Linked DNA regions of Homo sapiens: regions 1, 3 and 4 are each linked to region 2. Evidence: promoter capture Hi-C in 16 types of primary human blood cells and fetal thymus (Javierre and others, 2016). All regions are on one chromosome and are shown on one strand. Each heading gives the region's core, a stretch centred on a gene start or on the middle of the fragment in contact. The rest is flanking DNA. Distances are from core to core; before and after follow the strand shown.

Region 1 (2,700 bases), core at 22-2,521, 160 kb before region 2:
TGTAATCCCAGCACTTTGGGAGGCCGAGGCAGGTGGATCACGAGGTCAGGAGATCAAGACCATCCTGGCTAACATGGTGAAACCCCGTCTCTACTAAAAATACAAAAAAATTAGCTGGGCGTGGTGGCAGTCACCTTTAGTCCCAGCTACTTGGGAGGTTCAGCCAGGAGAATGGTGTGAACCTGGGAGGCGAAGCTTGCAGTGAGCTGAGATTGCACCACCGCACTCCAGCCTGGGCGACAGAGCAAGACTCCGTCTCAAAAAAAAAAAAAAAAAAGTGAAAAGGGATTAGATGAGCGATGTAGGCAGGGACCAGATTATCTAGGGCTTAATAGACCATCAGGAGTTTGGATTTTATTTTATTCTGGTTCCAGTGGGAAGCTATTAAAAAAGTTTAATCACGGGAATTACATGACCCAATTTATTCTTTAGAAAGATCACTCTGACTCAGGGTTTCTTAACCTCAGCACTATTGACTTTTTGGGCTGAATAATTCTTTGTGTAGGGACTGTAGGCATTGTAGGATACGTACCTTGTTTAGAATCCTTGGCTTTCACCCACTAGATGCTAGTAACCCCACCACCTCCCCTCAGTTGTGACAAACAAAGATGTCTCCACACATTGTCAGGTGTCCCTGAGGGACAAAATTACTATTCTAATGGAACAAAAAGGATATGAACTTAAATACCAGACTCTGGGCCAGGCGTGGTGGCTCACACCTGTAATAATCCCAGCACTTTGGGAGGCCGAGGTGGGTGGATCACCTGAGGTCAGGAGTTCGCCTGGGCAACATGGCAAATCACCGTCTGTATTAAAAATATAAAAATTTAGGCCGGACGTGGTGGCTCATGCCTGTAATCCTAGCACTTTGGGAGGCTGAGGCGGGTGGGTCATGAGGTCAGGAGATCGAGACCATCCTGGCTAACACAGTGAAACCCTGTCTCTACTAAAAATACAAAAAATTAGCCAGGCGTGGTGGTAGACACCTGTAGTCCCAGCTACTCGGGAGGCTGAGGCAGGAGAATGGCGTGAACCCAGGAGGCAGAGCTTGCAGTGAGCCGAGATCGTGCCACTGCATTCCATCCAGCCTGGGCAACAGAGTGAGACTCTGTCTCAAAAAAAAAAAAAAAAAAAAAAAAAAAAAAAGCTGGGCGTGGTGGCGGATGCCTGTAATCCCAGCTACTTGGGAGGCTGAGGCAGGAGAATTCGTTGAACCTGGGAAGCAGAGGTTGCAATGAGCTGAGATTGTGCCATTGCACTCCAGCCTGGGCAACAGAATGAGACCCTGTCTCAAAACTACAAAAACAAACAAAAAAAAACCAGACTCTGATACAGTGGGATGTTCACATTAGAAGCATGATGGCTCTTATTTCACATGAACTCTGGAACATACCATGGCCTTCAGAGATGTTGACCAGGTATGGTGGCTCATGCCTGTAATACATCCAGCACTTTGGGAGGCTGAGGCAGGTGGATCGCTTGAGGCCAGGAGTTCGAGACCAGCCTGGCCAACATGGCGAAACCCCATCTGTACTAAAAATACAAAAAAATTAGCTGGGCGTGGTGACATGCCTCCCAGCTACACGGGAGGCTGAGGCATGAGAATCGCTTGAACCCCGGAGGCAGAGGTTGCAGTGAGCCTAGATCGCACCACAGCACTCCAGCCTGGGTGACAGAGCAAGACTCTGTCTCCAAAAAAATTAAAAAATTAAAATGGTCCAGTTGAGTACAAAAAAGAAGATCAGGAAGAGTTTATTGGAGCAAGACGGAGATGAGCAACCTTGAAAACAAGTCTAATTAAGATGAGTAATTGTTAAAAGATGAGCAGTGCTTTCTAAGCAGAGGTAGCAGGAGGAAAGGGTCTCCGATCCTGTAACGCCTTTTATGCCAGGAAGAAAGGATGAATTGAAAGGATGAAATGGCAAATGTCGTAGTAGACTATTGGACTATTCCTGCAGCTCAGGAAAGTGGGCTGGAAATAAGAGGTTTGGCAAATACCCTGTTATGGTGGTATTTAAGGCAGAGGGAGGGTTTGGAACGAGCTCACAAAGGGAACTCTAGAATGAACAGAGTAGGCTTCTCAGGGAAGGCTTAAATCCTGGAGGTCTCTGGGGTAGGTAGGACAGAAAGTCCTGTTATTTTCCAGGTAGACAGACTGTTGGGCGCCGGGGAATTAATGCTGGTCACCTAGAGAGTTGTGCATTTTGTCTACCATTGTTAAATGAGGCAATGACCTGCCTCAAATACTTTTCACTCCACACACCTATTTGGAAGCCACGTATATTTTGCTTGCTCTTCCCATTTAAAATCGTAATCCACTCTATTCCACCCCCATGAGGAAGCTTTTGGGTAGAAAAGTGTGTAGAGGAATAAGTAAGTTGATGTGCATCAGATGTGCAAACTTTAGTGTGCATCAGAACCACCTGGAAGGCTTGTTAAAACAGGTTGCTGGGCACCACCCGGGGAGTTTGATTCAGTAGGTCTAAGGTGGAGTTCAATAATCTGCGTTACTAACACGTTTCCAGGTGATGCTGCTGTTCGGGGGACCACACCCAGAAGCTACCTTTTACCACTCTAAAAGGTAGCTGATTGGTTTTCTCTGTAATATAAATTCCTTAACGAGTTTAAAATATTGATCTGAGCCCTCGTAATTGCCTCAAATGTTTAATGCTAATGTGTGTTCAATGCTGTAGCCACGAG
Region 2 (2,713 bases), core at 154-2,653:
AAAGATGAGGCTCTGCTTGCAGAGATCCACACACTACAGGAAACAGTTGGCTTTGGAAATCCATCTTTCTGATACCCCTCCAGCTGAACAATTTTCTGCATGGGACTCTGAGTTCCTTTCCTTCCCAGAGAGTTTTACCGTATGAAGCCTGGAGCTGGAGAACGAAAGAATCTTCACTATAAACAGAGACCCATTCATTTATTTCCATTGGCTGTGTTACTGGATGTTTTACTGGTTGACGAGAAACTGGGTCACAATAAAAAAATGGAGATATGAAACTCAAAATTCATCAGCATGGTTCTGGAGTTAACGTATACTGAGTTACATGTAGGTATTTAGTTATATAAATAACTATAGTGTAATTGCTATAATAATTATATGGCATATATATACATACAATAAAATTAAGGTATAGTGGGGTCATTATTAGGGTTTCTGATGAAAGCTTATTGGATCACTCCTGGAGGAAGTCAGGTGCTAAGGTTTCTGGACAGGTTCAGTTAACTGAAATACAGGAATTAAGGCATCATTTTCAAAGGTGGCCCTGGAGGAAGACTGCTATGCTGGGTCACTGTATTAGGGCAAAGAGCATGCTAGCCCTTTGGAACTAACAGTAAACGAAAAAGCTGAACAGAGAGGTCTTTGCTGAAGGTGGAGCTATTGACACCTTCTCACCAAACACAGGCATCTTCATGGATCTAAACCACTAGGGCTCCAAGGAGACACCGTTACCCTCATCACCGAGGTCATATTCTAGGGCTACAGATAAAAAAAAAAAAAATCATACTTCACCTCTGCCCTGGATCACAGCACGGCAAAAGCAGGAATAACCCCTCCTTTTTTTTTTAAGGTGTGACTGCCTCGATAGGGGTGGGACGACAACAGGAGAAAAGGTGAGAGGTAAATTAATTTTGGTTAACGAGAAGGATAAAGTAAAATCTAGTCACTTACAATCCTTCTCCTAGTCTCGGCCCTGACACTACCTCCTCTGTGAAGTCTTCCTTAGCAAGCACTAGGTTTGCCTTCTCTGCTCGCTGTCCTTGCGCTGAGTACTACTGATCGCGCTAGTTTCTCTGCTGTCATCTCACGGTCTCCCCAGCGGACTGTGAGCTCCACGAGGAAAGAACAGCGCCCTTTAGTATTTGCGTTCTCAGCGTTGCGCCTCGGCACCAACGCTTGCAAGATGGATGGCTTTTGTAGCACTTTCCTTGGCGCGCCTGGGATTCGCCTAAAACTTCTGACTCCAGCAGGGACTCACAAGTCTGAGAGGGATCGCACCGCCACTCCCACAAGACACCACGAGAAACGCCTCTTTTGCAGCAGTTTAAGGTACGTTAGGGGTCACCGTGTTGCATTGTGGGAAGTATAGGGCGGCAAGCGGAGGAGGCGTGGCGAGCGGATCATCCGCTTCCGGAGTCGAGGTTTTCGGGCTTGTACCGCTTGGCGGTGCGGCCTGGTGTCGGCTTGCAGGTTCTTTCTGTGTTTGTTCTCTGCCCTGCCAAGGCCGTAGAGCTGGTGCGTGCGGGTAGCGGGGCTCTCCGAGGAGCCGCACGCCGGCGGCACCATGGTCCACCTCAGTGAGTCATCGGGCCACCGCGAGACGTTCCGGGCGGTCACGGGGCTCGGGAGTTCGGGGCCGGGTGGGGAGAGCTCTCCCAGGCGCGATGGAGGCAACCCGAACCTGAAGCAGCCACACTGCCTTACATTTGATCCTTCTCTCAGTTTTTTCCCCACTTAATCACCGCTGAAAAATTTCCACCCCATTGAAGCAGCTAAGGCTCCGACAAGGTCACAGAGCCTAGTGAATGGCAAGCCCATGCGGGGTGGGTTTGGGTATGAGGAGGAGGTCATTGCTGGCTGGACTGGCCAAGAGGGGTTTCACAAAGAAGAGTAGCATCTAAACTGGATTGACAGGAATGGATTGGAAGTGAGACATTTCAGTGGGAAAAGGGAATTGTGCCGTCTGTGTCATTTTGTCCTTTTTGTGCTGTTTTTTGTGTCCTAACCAGCTGCTTTTCTACAGCTACTCTCCTCTGCAAGGCCTACCGTGGGGGCCACTTAACCATCCGCCTTGCCCTGGGTGGCTGCACCAATCGGCCGTTCTACCGCATTGTGGCTGCTCACAACAAGTGTCCCAGGGATGGCCGTTTCGTAGAGCAGCTGGGCTCCTATGATCCATTGCCCAACAGTCATGGAGAAAAACTCGTTGCCCTCAACCTAGACAGGATCCGTCATTGGATTGGCTGCGGGGCCCACCTCTCTAAGCCTATGGAAAAGCTTCTGGGTAACTCAGCTCTGGTCTTACCTTATTGAGGGGATTTTAAACTGAAGTCAGCTCCAGGACAGTAGGTGTAAGAATGATTTTCGGCTGGGCACGGTGGCTCACGCCTGTAATCTCAGCGCTTTGGGAGGCCGAGGCGGGCGGATCACCTGAGGTCAAGAGTTTGAGACCAGAGTGGCCAACATGGTGAAACGCTGTCTCTACTAAAAATAAAAAAAAAAAATTAGTTGGGCGTGGTGACACGCACCTGTAGTCTCAGCTACTGGGGAGGCTGAGGCAGGAGAATCGCTTGAACCCAGGAGGCGGAGGTTGCAGTGAGCCAAGATCGCGTCACTGCACTCCAGTCTGGGCAACAGAGGGCGATTCCATCTCAAAGAAAAAAAAAAAAGAGTTATTTCATTCCCTCTAGGCTGTTCAGGACTGAAGTGGGAG
Region 3 (2,831 bases), core at 304-2,803, 210 kb before region 2:
AGCCTCATTTCCTGCCTTTCTCTTTCACGTTATCTTCGTTCTAGCCATAACACAGCAAAGCCAGTTTTCTGAACGTGTTATGCTCTTTAAGTTTTATACCCTCATACTTTTCTTTATTTTTTATAACTGCTTTATTGACATGTAATTCACATACCATAAAGTTGACCTATTTAAATTGTACAATTCCATGTTTTTTATATACTACAGAGTTGTGCAATCATTACCACAGTTTTGGAACATTTTCATCATCCCCTCCAAAGAAACCCTGTGCCCATTAGCAGTCACTCTTCATTTTCCCCTAACCCCCCTTGCTAACCCTAGGTAACCACCAATCTGCTGTCCCCATAGATTCACCTATTCTGGACAGTTCATATAAATGGAATCACACAGTGTGTGCTCTTTTGTGACTGGATTCTTTCCATGGTCTCAAGGTTTATCTGTGGTGTAGCATGAAGCAGTACAACATTCCTTTTTATGATGGAATAGTAGTCTATTGTATGGATATAGCACATTTTGTTTGTTTTATTCATCAGCTGATAGACATTTATTTCTACTCTTGGACTTACTAATAATGCTGCGAAGAATATGCATGTGCAAGTTTTATGTTTTCATTTTCTTTTTGAGACAGAATCTTGCTCTGTCGCCCAGGCTGGAGCGCAGTGGCGCGATCTTGGCTCACTGCAAGCTCCGTCTCCTGGGTTCACGCCATTCTCCTGCCTCAGCCTCCTGAGTAGCTGGGACTACAGGTGCCCGCCACCATGCCCAGCTAATTTTTATATTTTTAGTAGAGACAGGGTTTCACTGTGTAGCCAGGATGATCTCAATCTCCTGACCTCCTGATCCACCCGCCTCGGCCTCCCAAAGTGCTGGGATTACAGGCGTGAGCCACCATGCCCGGCCTATGTTTTCATTTTCTTGAGTATAGACCTGGGAGTGAAATTGCTGGGTCATATTGTAACTCTATGATTAACCTTTTAAGGATCTGCCAAACTGTTTTCCAAAACAGCTGTACCATTTTATTGTTGTTGTTGTTTTTGAGACAGAGTTTTGCTCTTGTTGCCCATGCTAGGGTGCAATGGTGCGATCTCGGCTCACCGCAACCTCTGCCTCCTGGGTTCAAGTGATTCTCCTGCCTCAGCCTCCTGAGTAGCTGGGATTACAGGCACGCACCACCACGCCCGGCTAATTTTGTATTTTTTAGTAGTGACGGGGTTTCTCCATGTTGGTCAGGCTGGTCTCAAACTCTTGACCTCAGGTGATTGTCCCACTTCATCCTCCCAAAGTGCTGGGATTACAGGCATGAGCCACTGCGCCCGGCCTTAGCTGTACCATTTTACAGTTTCATCAGCAGTGTATATATTCTTTGGATGAAAAAATATATATATTTTAATAAATATACATTTTAATATATAAACATATACTTTACATATGTAAAATATATTTTAATATAGAAAATACATGTATATTTTAATATAGAGACAGGGTTTCGCCATGTTGCCCAGGCTGGTAACTCCTGAGCTCAAGCAGTCTACCCGCTTTGGCCTCCCAGGGTGCTAGGGTGACAGGCATGAGCTACCACACCCAGCCGAGGATGAATATATTTTCAAATCCTTTGCTTATTTTATAATTGGGTTATTTGTCTTAAAATTTTCTTTATTAAAAAATTTTTTTGCCAGGTGCGGTGGCTCACACCTGTAATCCCAGCATTTTGGGAGGCCGGGGCGGGTGGATTACCTGAGGTCAGGAATTCAAGACCAGCCTGGCCAACATGGTGAAACCCTGTCTCTACTAAAAATACAAAAATTAGCTGAGTGTGGTGGTGCGTGCCTGTAATCCCAGCTACTCAGGAGGCTGAAGCAGGAGAATTGCTTGAACCTGGGAGACAGAGGTTGCAATGAGCCAAGATCACACCACTGCACTCCAGCCTGGACAACAGAGTGAGACTCCGTCTCTAAAAAATAAAACAAAACATTTTTTTGTTGTCTATATAAATTTATGAAGTATAAGTGTAATTTTGTTACATAGATATATTGCATAGTGGTGAAGTCAAGGCTTTTAGTGTATCTATCACCAGACTAGCATACATTGTACTTATTAAGTAATTTCATCTTCCACACCTCTCCCACCTCTCTACCCTTCCAAGTCTCCTTTGTCTATCATTCCACACTCTACCTCCATGTACATATATTATTTAGCTTCCACTTATGAGAACATGCAGTATTTTTCTGTCTCAGTTGTTTCATGGGAGATAATTATTGAGTTGTGTTTTTTAGATATTCTATATGCAAGTCCCTTACGTATATGATTTACAAATAATTTTCTCCCATTCCACTTTCACTTTCTTTCTTTCTTTCTTTTTTTTTTTTTTTGAGACAGGGTCTTGCTGTGTCACCCAGACTGGAGTGCAGTGGTACCATCTTGGCTCACTGCAACCTCCACCTCCCAGATTCAAGCGATTCTCCTGCTTCACCCTCCCAAGTAGCTGGGATTACAGGCATGTGCCACCATGCCCGGCTAATTTTTGTATTTTTAGTAGAGACAGGGTTTCACCATGTTGGTAAGGCTGATCTCAAACTTCTGGTCTCAAGTGATCCACCTGCTCAGCCTCCTGAAATGCTGGGATTACAGGCATGACCCCCGGCCTAGCTGACTTTCACTTTCTTGATAATGTCCTTTAGGCTTTCACTCCATCATCTAGGCTAGAATGTTGGAGTGCAATCGTAACTCACTGCAATCTCAAACTCCTGGACTCAGGCAGTCTTACCGCATGGCCTTCCAAGTAGGTAGGACTACAGGCATGTCCTACCATGACTAGCTTTTTTTTTTTTTTT
Region 4 (2,700 bases), core at 10-2,509, 230 kb before region 2:
GGATTTACAACTTACTGTTTTCAATGATACTGTATGCTAAATCAATATTACTTGGACATTATCTTGAATTTCAAATTATTTTCCATACTTAAAAATGATTGCCTGTTTTCAGTGAATAGACATGATTCTAAATAATCTGAGTGTAGAAGTTAGTCTAATATGCTTTTGTGAAGGTTTCATCAATTGTGTTGACCATACTTCAATTTGATCAATACTTACTTTGCTTTCAATTGTTAGGGTCAAATACCTTGATGTCATATCAGATACCAAAAGTGACCATTTAGAGAGCAACAGAAAGTATTGAGTTAGAATGGATATTTTAACTGCCACCATTGTAATTTTGTCATCTTGAAACTTAAAACACATCCTTGGAGTCCTAGAGACGATCTTTATAAATGTAGATTTCAGTTTGTCACTGACCACAAATTTCGTTATTTCTGTTACATCTTTTTCTAGATCTTGAGCACATGAACACTTGGTTACACATCATCCTAATCATGACTGTTCATAGACTACTTCCTTCTCAGACATTTCTTGATAGCATTTGTACTATGTCTTATGTAAAATACGTTTTAACTTAAGTAAAATTTGTTGTTTTAGAGATTTTTTTCCCTTATCTAATAATCTTCTTGTTTCAGTGTGTGGTGACATCCATGGCCAATTTTTTGATCTGATGAAACTTTTTGAAGTAGGAGGATCACCTGCTAATACACGATACCTTTTTCTTGGCGATTATGTGGACAGAGGTTATTTTAGTATAGAGGTAATAATCATAAACTGTCATTTGATTTGCTGTTAAGTGTTAACACAGATGCTTTCACTTAATCCTAGTTTTCACAAGTACCTGTGTTAGGTTTTTTTAATAACTCTGCATATTCTGAAGTTTTTATGAAAAGCTACTATTTATTCCTGTTCTGTCTTTCAAACAATTCAAATAAATTTCTTTGTATAACTCTGTTTATATAATTATAATTGCCATTTTTTTCCCAGTGGAATTTATGAGCTGACTGAGGGGTCTTTATTGCCCTGTTAACTAGTGGCCTTAAAAATTTAGTGCTATTTATCTCTCTTGCCCCTAAAGGCATTAAACCATGTGAAAAAAGATTACTTGAATTCTGTCTGATTAAATAAAGTATATTGTGATTTTTTTATTGCTTGAGCCCTAGTGCTTCTGTTTCTCCTTGTGTAGCTATTAAGACTCAAGTATATCCTATGGAATCTTTGTGTATTTGGAAAGTATTAATTTGTTTTTAAAAACTTGAGGCATTAAAATGACCTTTTGATTATCACTTAACAGTAGATGGTTCCTTTTCTTCCTTTTTCTCTTTTCTTTTTCTTTTTTTTTGAGACAGGGTCTTACTCTGTGGCCCATGCTGGAGTACAGTGGCACCAGCATGGCTCAATGTAGCCTTGACCTCTTGAGCTTAAGGGATCCTTCTGTCCCAGTCTCTCAAATAGCTGGGACCACAGGTACACACCACCATGCCTAGACTAATTTTTAATTTTTTTGTAGCAATGGAGTTTCCTATGTTGCCCAGGCTGGTCTTGAACTCCTGGGCTCAAGTGATCCTCCTGCCTTGGACTCCCAAAGTGTTGAGATTACAGATGTGAGCCACATTGCCCTGCCATCTTTTTAAATTATATAAACAAAATGCAGCAAATGTAGAACAATATGTATTTTCCAATATATACATTTTTTCTTTTTTTAATGAAAAGGGGATCATATTATAATATTGTCTGTAACTTGCTTTTTCATACATGCCTACACCAAATATCCTTCCAAGTCAGTAAATATAAACTCGTAGCATCATTTTAATATCTACATTGTTTTCCATCTAATAAACAAACCATAATTAATTAATTCCTTGTGTTAGACACTGAAGATGTTCCCAGTTTTTTTCTTTACAAATGATGCTTTAATGAGTCATATTATTCATACATCTTTACATACTTGCCTGATTATTTTTGTAGGACAAATTCCTAGAGGTAGAATTGTGGGGTCAAATTTCTACCAATAGATACCTGTGTTGCACATTTAATATGTTCTAAGCATGTTCTAGGCACTGAAGACATATCGATTAATCCTCACAATAATATTAATGAGGTAAGTACTGTTGTTTTATTCATTTTATAGATGAGGAACCTGAGGCTTAGAGAGGTTAAGTAACTTGCCCAAGGTATTATTAGTAAACAGCATAGCCAGGCAATGTGACTCCCAGCATATGCTTTTAACCACCTTCCCTAGTAGATACTGAAACCTTACCTGGTGAATTTATGTTGGTTACTGTTGTTTATATCTCCTTCTCCAGTGTTTCCAATATACCTTTTTTTCTGAGGTGTGCTAGGATTCTCAGAGTGGAAGGAAGTTCTAGACTCTGTCTGTCCTGCTTCCCTTAGGAATTTTGCTATTTTGAGTTCTTCTTCCTCCTGCTGATAGTTGATTATTAGCCTCGTCAACTTTTCCCAAATTGTCACAGGGCTTCAGGCAAATCAGAAAATGGCCCATTTTAACAAAAAAATTTCAGGCATTTGACCAAAACAATAAAATAAACAGTTTTATGAAGCTTATTTGGTAACTAAGTTGGTGTGCATGTCCTTGTGTAAGATTGTTTTGCAGCTGACTCTTTTTTTTTTTTTTTTTAATTGAGATGGACTCTCACTCTGTCGCCCAGGCTGGAGTGTAGTGGCGTGATCTCGGCT

The links. The method cuts DNA at HindIII sites, captures the fragments that hold promoters and counts their contacts. A CHiCAGO score of 5 or more calls a contact.
Region 1: a contact is called between a fragment that was not itself captured here and the fragment with the promoter of MRPS16 in region 2, in 3 of 17 cell types (erythroblasts, M2 macrophages and endothelial precursors). The highest score is 6.2, in erythroblasts.
Region 3: a contact is called between a fragment that was not itself captured here and the fragment with the promoter of MRPS16 in region 2, in 2 of 17 cell types (erythroblasts and megakaryocytes). The highest score is 6.1, in erythroblasts.
Region 4: a contact is called between a fragment that was not itself captured here and the fragment with the promoter of MRPS16 in region 2, in 2 of 17 cell types (megakaryocytes and endothelial precursors). The highest score is 5.7, in megakaryocytes.

What each region holds. Positions count from the first base shown.
Region 1 is chr10:73,414,556-73,417,255 of GRCh38, reverse strand. No RefSeq gene overlaps it. Among named protein-coding and RNA genes, the nearest start is that of ANXA7, 1.8 kb to the right of the region's middle. The HindIII fragment of the contact is 2,147 bases long and covers 198-2,344 here.
Region 2 is chr10:73,251,334-73,254,046 of GRCh38, reverse strand. It overlaps MRPS16 (mitochondrial ribosomal protein S16), which reads left to right and starts at 1,403. Exons shown (of 3, transcript NM_016065.4): 1 at 1,403-1,577; 2 at 2,024-2,284. The coding sequence starts at 1,565. CFAP70 (cilia and flagella associated protein 70) reads left to right here. Exons shown (of 28, transcript NM_001367801.1): 28 at 1-285. The coding sequence ends at 72. All of the region lies in intron 2 of DNAJC9-AS1 (DNAJC9 and MRPS16 antisense RNA 1), which reads right to left. RefSeq lists enhancers at 1,008-1,267, 1,388-1,677, 1,117-1,684. The HindIII fragment of the contact is 1,832 bases long and covers 448-2,279 here.
Region 3 is chr10:73,457,276-73,460,106 of GRCh38, reverse strand. All of the region lies in intron 9 of PPP3CB (protein phosphatase 3 catalytic subunit beta), which reads left to right. Among named protein-coding and RNA genes, the nearest start is that of MSS51, 25 kb to the right of the region's middle. The HindIII fragment of the contact is 4,585 bases long and covers 1-2,831 here.
Region 4 is chr10:73,476,562-73,479,261 of GRCh38, reverse strand. It overlaps PPP3CB (protein phosphatase 3 catalytic subunit beta), which reads left to right. Exons shown (of 14, transcript NM_021132.4): 3 at 639-763. Among named protein-coding and RNA genes, the nearest start is that of PPP3CB-AS1, 18 kb to the left of the region's middle. RefSeq lists a silencer at 405-605. The HindIII fragment of the contact is 2,614 bases long and covers 1-2,566 here.